Regions from separate parts of the Homo sapiens genome. Here regions 2 and 3 are each linked to region 1. The links are contacts of gene promoters, found by promoter capture Hi-C in human tissues and cell types (Jung and others, 2019). All regions are on one chromosome and are shown on one strand. Each heading gives the region's core, a stretch centred on a gene start or on the middle of the fragment in contact. The rest is flanking DNA. Distances are from core to core; before and after follow the strand shown. Region 1 holds the start of ALG10 (ALG10 alpha-1,2-glucosyltransferase). Region 2 overlaps PKP2 (plakophilin 2). Region 3 has its middle 45 kb from the start of PKP2.

Region 1 (3,168 bases), core at 282-2,781:
GCAGGTTTGATCACTCCAATTGACACCAGGTACAAGCCAGGTAATGTAGTAATCATGGGATCCCACTTTAAAATGAAAGAAAATGAAGTAAAAGCAAGAGGTAATAGGAACAAGACAGGCACAAATATGTCAAGCCCAAGTCTCATCTCCAGCAACAATCAGAAATTTTGAGAAGTTATTCTATGACAAGATTAAGTAAGTCCTTGGCAGAACAGGATTCGTTTTTCTTATTTTTTGCCCCCGGACCAGCTTAGTGATGGTTCAGGTAGCAGCAACCAATAAACAACAACAACTTAAAATCTATTTCTATTTTCCAAGAAATGTTCTTTAAAAGCCTTTATTTTGATAAATAAACTGCAAATGTTCCAGTTTTTAAAAGCATGGAAACATTGTTTGGGACTCTTAAGTTTAGGAAAACATTTGGACCACAGGCTCCATGATGACAGCTAACATAAACTGAGACAGAAATTGTTGCCAAACCCTCTGTATTAACGTTACAATATGCCCTATAGTAAAGATTATTGTCATTTTGCAGATGAGTAACCTGAATTTCTGAAACTCAGAACATCTCCAAGATCACAAAACTAGTAAATCACAGCACCAAGATTTAAGATCAGATCTTTCTCTAAAACAGACTTTATATTTCTAGCCAGTACCCTATATTGTGTCACCAGAGAAGCAGGGGATGCTTATTTTGATATTTATATGTACATACTTGCACAGTCAAATATATACTCAAAAATGATGTGACTTGACTGGTTGCCAGTTTATCCAGTTAACAGTTCACTAAAAATACCCAGGGAAGGAATTTGTGATTATAAATTGTCACTTTTTGGTAGCTGAAGATCCCTCCAGTCCACCCTATCCCACCCCTAAAATGCACAGTGAGGTGCTTGACAGGTGAGCTAAAGGAAAGTTTTCTGGTATTTCCAAGGAGCACCCGAATGCCTTTAATCCTAAAACAAGGAAAGACAAAGTGGGATCGATATCGTCAGCTGCCAAGAGGAGGGCTCAGTTCCCCGTTGAGTATTCTCCCAGATCACTCCTTCCTGGAGGACAGATCTGCTGTTTATTCATTCATTTAATAAATATTTCACAGATCTCAGAGACAGGAACAAAAGACTATACCCAGTTTCTTTCATGTTCTGAGGCTTGAGGGGGTGGAACAGGACGAGTGAAGTCTAAGGATGGGAGGACGTGGGGACGCTGGGACCTCTCAGGCCTCTCCTGGGGTGGGGACAGGTTGGGGACCCCACCTGGGAAAGGGAGAAATGGCCCTCACAGTAGCGCTGCGCCTGAGGCAGGTGGAAGATCTCGTCCATGTAGGGCTCTCGCAACGCCCGGCTGAAGGCGGAGAAGAGGAGGCAGGATACTAAAAAGGTACAGCTCAAGGCGGCCGAGAAATAGTAACCTTCCAGCTGCGCCATTCCAGCTCCCACAGCCACTGCCCAAGAACCTACTCCTGGAAAATTCTGAGCCTGGAAACCCGAGCTGGAAACTTGGGCTCGAAATGGGCGCGCTAGGCGGGACTAGCCAGACGGGGCCACATACCGGAAGGCAAAGGATGCTGGGAGAGCGCGGATCCGGAAAGATCGGGTCGCTGTTTCCCGGAGTGACGGGTTTAGATAACGGACCGGATGATTACCCTCTCAATCGCATTGCCCGGGGCGCACAAAGTGTCAAAACTTCCGGAAGGGGCGGGTCTCGGATTTCGCCAGCGCGGGAGGTGCGTGGCTTGCTGCTTAGAAAAAAAAAAAAAAAAAAAAAAAAAAAAAAGCCGCTTCTTAGCTTGGATCTTTTTTCCTGCTCACTTCCATCACTTACCAGAAGGTGGCGACGTTTCCCCACGTTTCCAATTCCAAGCCCTAAAATGGACACATTTTTTCCCCCGTTATTTCTGTTATTTCTCTCCAGTGATCCGAATTAATTAAACCCTCAATTCCAAGACATTTCATTCCATCAACTTTGGAGTGTAGGAAGGGTGCGTTGGTTGTGATAGCAAAGACTGAGAGTTTTAGATGAAAACTTGAAGAACCAGAGACCCGTCAATGCCGAATGAACTTCAGTGAGAGGAGTGTTTGTTCGTTTGTTTGTTTAGGTTAAAAGAGAACTCTTTCAAAATGTGGATGCTCTCAGAGGATTTAGTTAAATTGACATTCCTAGTGCACTTTCATAGTCATATTACCCTGTAGGATTTGGAAAATACATATATATTTTAGAATTCGGGATGTTTTAGGTGTGCCTGTAAATTTGGTTGTTAATATCTGTAAGGCAGCCTTCTGTTTTTCCTACTAAATCATAAGCGTGAACATCTTAGTGGGTGGCATTATACATCCTTTATGTTTGTAGTCCCCAAAATGGCTTTCACACAGTAGGCACTTAAATTTGTGGACTTTTATAGGCTGTGTAGACATCATCAAATTCCTGTATTCTGGGATTAGGTGCTGGGGGCAGGAGATGAGGTAAATAATTTGAAGAATGCCGAAGATAAATTATGTGTTGTAATTTTGTCTTGAGCATGGTTGGCCATGTTTTGTAGAAAAACTATTTCTCAGGTAACCTCAATCAGGTTGCCTTTGGCAGGAATATATCAGAATTTAGGCGGGATTTAAGGTTGCAAACCTCAGAGTTCTCAATTGAGCTCTTTTTCTGGGTTAAAACTAATTCAGTATTTCTAAACTTAAGAAAGTTTCTTAAATTAAGCTGACTGCCTTTCCATTCTGTCTCTGCCTGTTTCCTCAATGATAAGAGGAAGTAGTGGTGAATGAGGGCTGGGATGGGAACATTTACATTACTGGAATAAAGTCATGTGAGGATCCTACTCTGATGTGATGCTTAGCTTTGTTTTAACCATTATCTCCCATTTTATTGTTGAGTCCATGCTGTACTTATCTGTTTAAGTCACTTGTAACACATCTCCAGATGATTCAGTCTTCAAGAGGTTGATGTGATCTACAAGTAATTAGCTCCTGACCTGTTGACCTGCTAAATCGTGTTATATATACTCTGCAGCTTACTGACCCACCCTAGAAATAGTGGGTCGTTTTTAAAGGGAGTAGAACAAGACTAGACATTTATGCTCTCCATTTTTCTTCATAACAATTGCCACCAATAGTTTATGTTAAACATTTGACTCCTATACATGCTGCACACATCCCTTTACATAAA
Region 2 (3,168 bases), core at 181-2,680, 1.2 Mb after region 1:
CCTATAAACAGTATCTCCTCCCCTTCTCCAGCTCAACATGGCTAGTAAGTTACGTATCTAAGCTATACAGTTGTTCTGGACACACTCTTTAGAAAGTAAACTAAAAAGACTCAGCCTCTACTTCTTAGCATTGTACTCCTGACTGTTCATGAAAACCTTAGCTTTTCTAGCCATACTCATTGCATTTCCCCCAGGCAACCCGCAGTTTAAGCACACCCAGTTGCATCTGGTAAACCTTGTAAGAGCTAAAGCCTGTGTCCTGTGATATCACACCTGCAAGGATATCTATATGTATACGATCAATATTCTTGTCCTGTTTTCTCAGGCCACGGAGAATTGTGTGTGCATTCTTCATAACCTCTCCTACCAGCTGGAGGCAGAGCTCCCAGAGAAATATTCCCAGAATATCTATATTCAAAACCGGAATATCCAGACTGACAACAACAAAAGTATTGGATGTTTTGGCAGTCGAAGCAGGAAAGTAAAAGAGGTATATTGGGAAGTTTTTGAAAGAATGAGAAAGGGAGAGAATGAGAGAGAGTGTGTGTTTGTGTATATGTGTATGTCTAAGTACTTGGTATATATCGGCACTATTTTAAGTTATTTTAATTCTTACATCAACCTTTTGAAGTGTGTATTATTAATACCCTCATTTACCAGTGAGGAAACAGAGACACAGTAAGATTAATTTTCCTGGAATAATTCAGCAAATAAGTGGAAGAGATTGAATACAATGCCAGGCAGTCTGGCTCCAGATTTTCATTGCTACCCATGAACCGTACTGCTTTATGCCTTATAGGTTAGGAAATAAGCTTAATGCAGCATAGCTAATTGTATATAAATTGTTTTTATTAAAGTCGGCCCTGATATTTGGCCTTGGGTATTCTAAAAACAAACTTTGGACATACTAAAAGCAAACCTCATAGGAAGGAATACATATTTATTTCCATACTGATATGAAAACTAAGAGAATGTAACCTCCCCTCCTTCTCTGAGTATCGTGGTATTTGTGGAAACCAGCTGGTAAATTTAGAACCCTGGTGCTATCCTGGACACTTTCACAAGACTCTGAGGGAACAGGCCTGTTTTTCTTATCTACAGGGTGGTTGTGACTAATTTAGCTTTTAGCTCAACAGCAGCCTGAAAACCATTCTAGAATGACCTATGCTTAATTCTCTGAATTTTCTCTCACTGGGAGAAATATCAAGTTAGGGGTGTGGAGTGTTATTAGGAAGAAATAATCATTATGGGCTAAAAGTTAAGTGATTAGAAATTATATATATTTGCTTTTAAAATTTCTATTTCAAGGGCTTCTTATGCAAATTATGAGCCTTTCTAGACAGTATTTCTGGTCTCCTGGTTTGAGTGTGAAATTATAGCCATCACCTGACATGCATTAATTCTGGATTCCTTTTGTGTGTGGTCAGCAATACCAGGACGTGCCGATGCCGGAGGAAAAGAGCAACCCCAAGGGCGTGGAGTGGCTGTGGCATTCCATTGTTATAAGGATGTATCTGTCCTTGATCGCCAAAAGTGTCCGCAACTACACACAAGAAGCATCCTTAGGAGCTCTGCAGAACCTCACGGCCGGAAGTGGACCAGTGAGTATTGGGCCTGATTTCCTACTTTTTAAAATAATGATATTGTAGACATACCTACATTCAATTCAGAGATGAAACAGTGAGGGAAGAGAAAAAGGTTTCTTATTTTAGTAAAGACAATTCTCAGAAATTACAGAGGGCTTCGGTCTCAGCTTATGCAAAGTCAAGTCAGGCTGCTTGACTGACAAGTCAAGTCAGTACTCTTTCAGTTACAGATCTCAGAATCCTGCCTCAAGCTGGTTTAAGCAAAAAAGAGGAAATTTTTGGCTTATGGCACTGAAAACTCCAGGGTGGGCCTTCTTTCTGTCGTGACTGGACTTAGGTGCACCAGTGATTACAGTTGACTTTCTTCATCTCCGGGCTTGGTTTTCCTCTGCTGGGTTTGTTCTCAAAGGCTCTCTCCATAGGGTAACAAAGACAGCCATGAATTATTTCAGGCTCACGTTTTATCAGCCCAATGTGTCCCCCACAAGAAACAAACTACCATTTTCCCAATAGTGTTGTTAAGAAGTTGGAGAATATGTCTCACGGGCTGGCTTGGGCCTCTTGCCCATTTCTGAACCAATACCTGTGTCTATGAGGCTATGATGTTCTAATTGGCCAAGTCTGGATCATATGCCCAGATGTGCACTTCCAGGGCATGGGTTTGATTGGATGAGGGCCACTGCCACTTGTACCACATGGGCTGAAATGGTAAAGGAGTGCTCCCTAATGGAAAATGAGACTGTTACTACCAAAGGAAGGAGGAATAAATGCTGGGAAGGCAAAAACAACAGCAGATGTCTACTGCAGTATGGAGTTGGAAAGGCCATCTGTGCTTTTGTGTCCCAGAAATTCAACTACAAAATAAAGAGCTGATCCTCTTTCCAGATGCACTTACTTTATAGCAGCAAAGTCAAAATAATTAAAATAGTAAAAGGTTATTCCCTTCCCCATGTATTTTATACCCTTCCTATATATTAAGGTATTCTGTAAGTATTTAATGATTTAAACTAAGCTTGTATTCTTTGCCTTGGTCATGAAACGATTAGAATAAACTCCCCCCAAATAGCTCATTGTCTGTCTAGTCTCCAATTATCTCTGTAGAGAAAAGTACTATTGTAAGTAGCAAAAAATATTTATGTTTTACTTGAGAAACCATATTTATTCTTTAATATGTGTGTTTACACAGAAGCTTGTTCTCTGAATAAAATTGTGAAATGCTAAAACCAATATTTCTCTTACCTTAGCATTGTGGTTAAGAATGCAACCAAACTTTCATCTGTTTGGCTTTCTGCAAAATGTACATTGAGAAAGAAACTGGGAACTACCAGGGAGCCCTTAATGACACAGGGACACTAATGAATCACGTTATTCCCCATTTTCCTATGCTAGGTTTCCCAAAACCATTTCTCTTACTTTGCTAAACTATAGAAGCCCTCTTTTTAATTCCCAGCTAACATAAAAGAAAATTAAATGGGGGGGGGGGGGTTGTGTGTGCGTGTGTGTGTGTGTGTAAGCTTGCTGTGGTCTGAGTCTAGTTCAATATAAGCTAACCCTTTAAGCTTGGATTTTAGCCTCTTCCATT
Region 3 (3,168 bases), core at 211-2,710, 1.1 Mb after region 1:
ACTGAAATGCAGAGTACCTGGAGTATGGTAAATTACTCAATACATTTCATGTCTTGTCATTACTGGTTTTCCTTTATGAGGCACTTACGAATGTGTGCCTCATTTCAATGTAATGAGATGACAAGTAATTCAATTATTTTTTATCAAAAAATGTATGCACACTAAGACTTTAACTATTCAAGACTTAGCTGCCTATCCCTTTCCACTGGACATGGATATTCTTTTAAGAAATCTCCTGGCCAGGCACAGTGGTTCGTGACTGTAATCCCAACACTTCTGGAGTCTGAGGCAGGAGGGTCACTTGAGCCCAGGAGTTCAAGACCAGTCTGGCAGGCTGGGCAACATAGCAGACATCATCTCTAAAAAAAAATTTTTTTTTTTTTTTTTGAGATGGAGTCTTGCTCTGTCGCCTGGGCTGGAGTGCAGGGGCGCCACCTTGGCTCACTGCAAGATCCACCTCCTGGGTTCACACCATTCTCCTGCCTCAGCCTCCCAAGTAGCTGGGACTACGGGCACCTGCCACTATGCCCAACTTTTTTTTTTCTTTTTTGTATTTTTAGTAGAGACGGGGTTTCACCGTGTTAGCCAGAATGGTCTCAATCTCCTGACCTCGTGATCTGCCCACCTCGGCCCCCCAAAGTGCTGGGATTACAGGCGTGAGCCACTGCGCTGGACCAAATGTTTTTTGTTTGTTTGTTTTTTTAACTAGACAAGCATGGCGGCACATGCCTGTAGCCATTTAAAATGTTTTTTAAAAAGGAAACCTCCTGCCCGGCATGGTGGCTCACTCCTGTAATCCCAGCACTTTAAACAGCGGAGGCAGGTCAGATCACTTGAGGTCAGGAGTTCGAGACCAGCCTGGTCAACATGATGAAACCCCAACTTTACTAAAAATACAAAAATTAGCCGGGCGTGGTGGCATGCGCCTGTAATCCCAGCTATTCGTGAGGCTGATGCAGAATCGCTTGAACCCAGGAGGTGGAGGTTGCAGTCAGCCAATATCGTGCTACTGCACTCCAGCCTAGGCAACAGAGCGAGACTCCATCTCAAAAAAAAAAAAAAAAAAGGAAACCTCCTGATGGTGATTATTAAAGGTAAAATAAAATCTACCAATTGATAAACAAGCATCATGTGGCCTGTGGACTATCATTTAATATAGGTCCTAACCAGTCTCCATTGCCAGCCTACAAATTAAAGAATTAAAGGCCCTAATGATAGTCCATTTTAAAATTATGATGAATGGAAAATAGATTATTCTCTAAAAGAAATTTTGAGATAGAGAGGAAGAAACTTGCCTATTGTCACATGAGAAAATATTGTTAAGTCCAGCATTCTGCTAATGCCCATGTCTAGAAAATGTAATTCCTTTTCAATGATTCCTAGACAGGGATTCTGGGAATAATGTCATAACAGATTACACTGTATATTCACTGACTATTATATACTTCATTACCAATAGCACCCCTAGAATATAGACTGTAAATTAGAGGCCTTGTCTGTCTTATTCTCCACATGTTATCCTGCCTATAATATTGCCTAACCCATAGTAAGAACTCAGTTGCAGAAATCAATGTACACTTAGCTTACCACCAGATTTATTTCCAATGCTGAAACACTTATTCATTTATTTATTTATTTATTTTTAATTTTATTTATTTATTCATTTGAGACAGGGTCTCACTCCGTCACCCAGGCTGGAGTACAGTGGCACAGTCACAGCCCACTGCAGCCTCGACCTCCTGGGCTCAGGTAATCTTCCCACCTCAGCCTCCTGAGTAGCTGGGGCCACAGGCAGGCACCATCACGCCTGGCTAATTTTTGTATGTTTAGTAGAGACGGGTTTCACCAAGTTGCCCAGGCTGGTCTCAAACTCCTGGACTCACGTGATCTTCCCACCTCAGCCTCCCAAAGTGCGGGGATTACAGGCGTGAGCCACCGCACCCAGCAAAATACATATTTAAAAGAATTATGGGCCGGGTGCGGTGGCTCATGCCTGTAATCCCAGCACTTTGGGAGGCCGAGGCGGGCAGATCACCTGAGGTCGGGAGTTTGAGGCCAGCCTGACCAACATGGAGAAACCCTGTCTCTACTAAAAATACAAAATTAGCCGAGCGTGGTGGCACATCCCTGTAATCCCAGCTACTAGGGAGGCTGAGGCAGGAGAATCACTTGAACCTGGGAGGCGGAGGTTGCAGTGAGCCCAGATCATGCCATTGCACTCCAGCCTGAGCAACAAGAGCAAAACCCTGTCTCAGGAAAGAAAAAAAAAAAAGAATTACGTCAAGTTGGACACAGTGGTGCATGCCTGTAATCCCACCTGAGAAGGGAGGATCACTTGATCCCAGGAGTTCAAGACCAGTCTGGGCAACAAAGCAAGACCCTGTCTCAAAATTAAAAAAACAAACAAACAAAACAAACAATATCAGCCAGAGGTAAATTGTTAAATAAGCTTTTATAACACTTGAGCCCAGGAGGCAGAGGTTGCAGTGAGCCAAGATCATGCCACTGCCCTCCAGCCTGGGCAACAAAGCCAGACTGTGTCTCAAAAAATAAAAAAGAAAGAAAAAAGAAAGAAAGAGAGAAATACCTGAGACTGGGTAATTTATCTTAAAAAGGGGTTTAATTGGCTCATGGTTCTGCAGGCTTTACAGGAAGCATGGTGCTGGCATCTGTTCAGCTTCTAGGGAGGCCACAGAAAGCTTACAATCATGGCAGAAGGTGCAGGAGGGAGAGCAGGCACATCACATTGGGAAAGCAGGTGCAAGAGAGAGAGAGAGAGTGGAGGGGGAGATGCCACACTTTACAACAACCAGGTCTCCAGAGAACTCACTCTCTATCTCCAAGACAGCACCAAGCCATGAGGGATCCACTCCCATGACCCAAGCACTTCCTTCCCACCAGGCCCCACCTCCAGCACTGGAGATTACAATTCAACATGAGATTTGGGCACGGACAAATATCCAAACTATATCATACATGTTTGACTCTATTCGCAAGATTAAGATTTTCTTACTTTACTAAGTAAGAACTTTACCACCCCTCCATGCTTAATTGGGAACACTTTTTCAGTGTCTAACATAGGCACTAACAGGAATCTAAATTTACATACAAATGGAGTCATCCTATACTATTGCTCTGCAATTTTTTCATTGTGCTTAAAATGAGTTG

What was found. The method cuts DNA at HindIII sites, captures the fragments that hold promoters and counts their contacts. A contact is called where the count stands out against the background at its distance.
Region 2: a fragment that was not itself captured here is called in contact with the fragment with the promoter of ALG10 in region 1 in 1 of the 25 tissues and cell types used here (dorsolateral prefrontal cortex).
Region 3: a fragment that was not itself captured here is called in contact with the fragment with the promoter of ALG10 in region 1 in 1 of the 25 tissues and cell types used here (dorsolateral prefrontal cortex).

What each region holds. Positions count from the first base shown.
Region 1 is chr12:34,020,859-34,024,026 of GRCh38, reverse strand. ALG10 (ALG10 alpha-1,2-glucosyltransferase) reads right to left here and starts at 1,531. Exons shown (of 3, transcript NM_032834.4): 1 at 1,257-1,531; 2 at 1-65. The coding sequence starts at 1,427. RefSeq lists silencers at 1,525-1,711, 1,625-1,774. The HindIII fragment of the contact is 12,723 bases long and covers 1-3,168 here.
Region 2 is chr12:32,819,789-32,822,956 of GRCh38, reverse strand. It overlaps PKP2 (plakophilin 2), which reads left to right. Exons shown (of 13, transcript NM_001005242.3): 8 at 326-490; 9 at 1,428-1,601. Among named protein-coding and RNA genes, the nearest start is that of YARS2, 65 kb to the right of the region's middle. The HindIII fragment of the contact is 5,860 bases long and covers 1-3,168 here.
Region 3 is chr12:32,940,326-32,943,493 of GRCh38, reverse strand. No RefSeq gene overlaps it. Among named protein-coding and RNA genes, the nearest start is that of PKP2, 45 kb to the right of the region's middle. The HindIII fragment of the contact is 6,625 bases long and covers 1-3,168 here.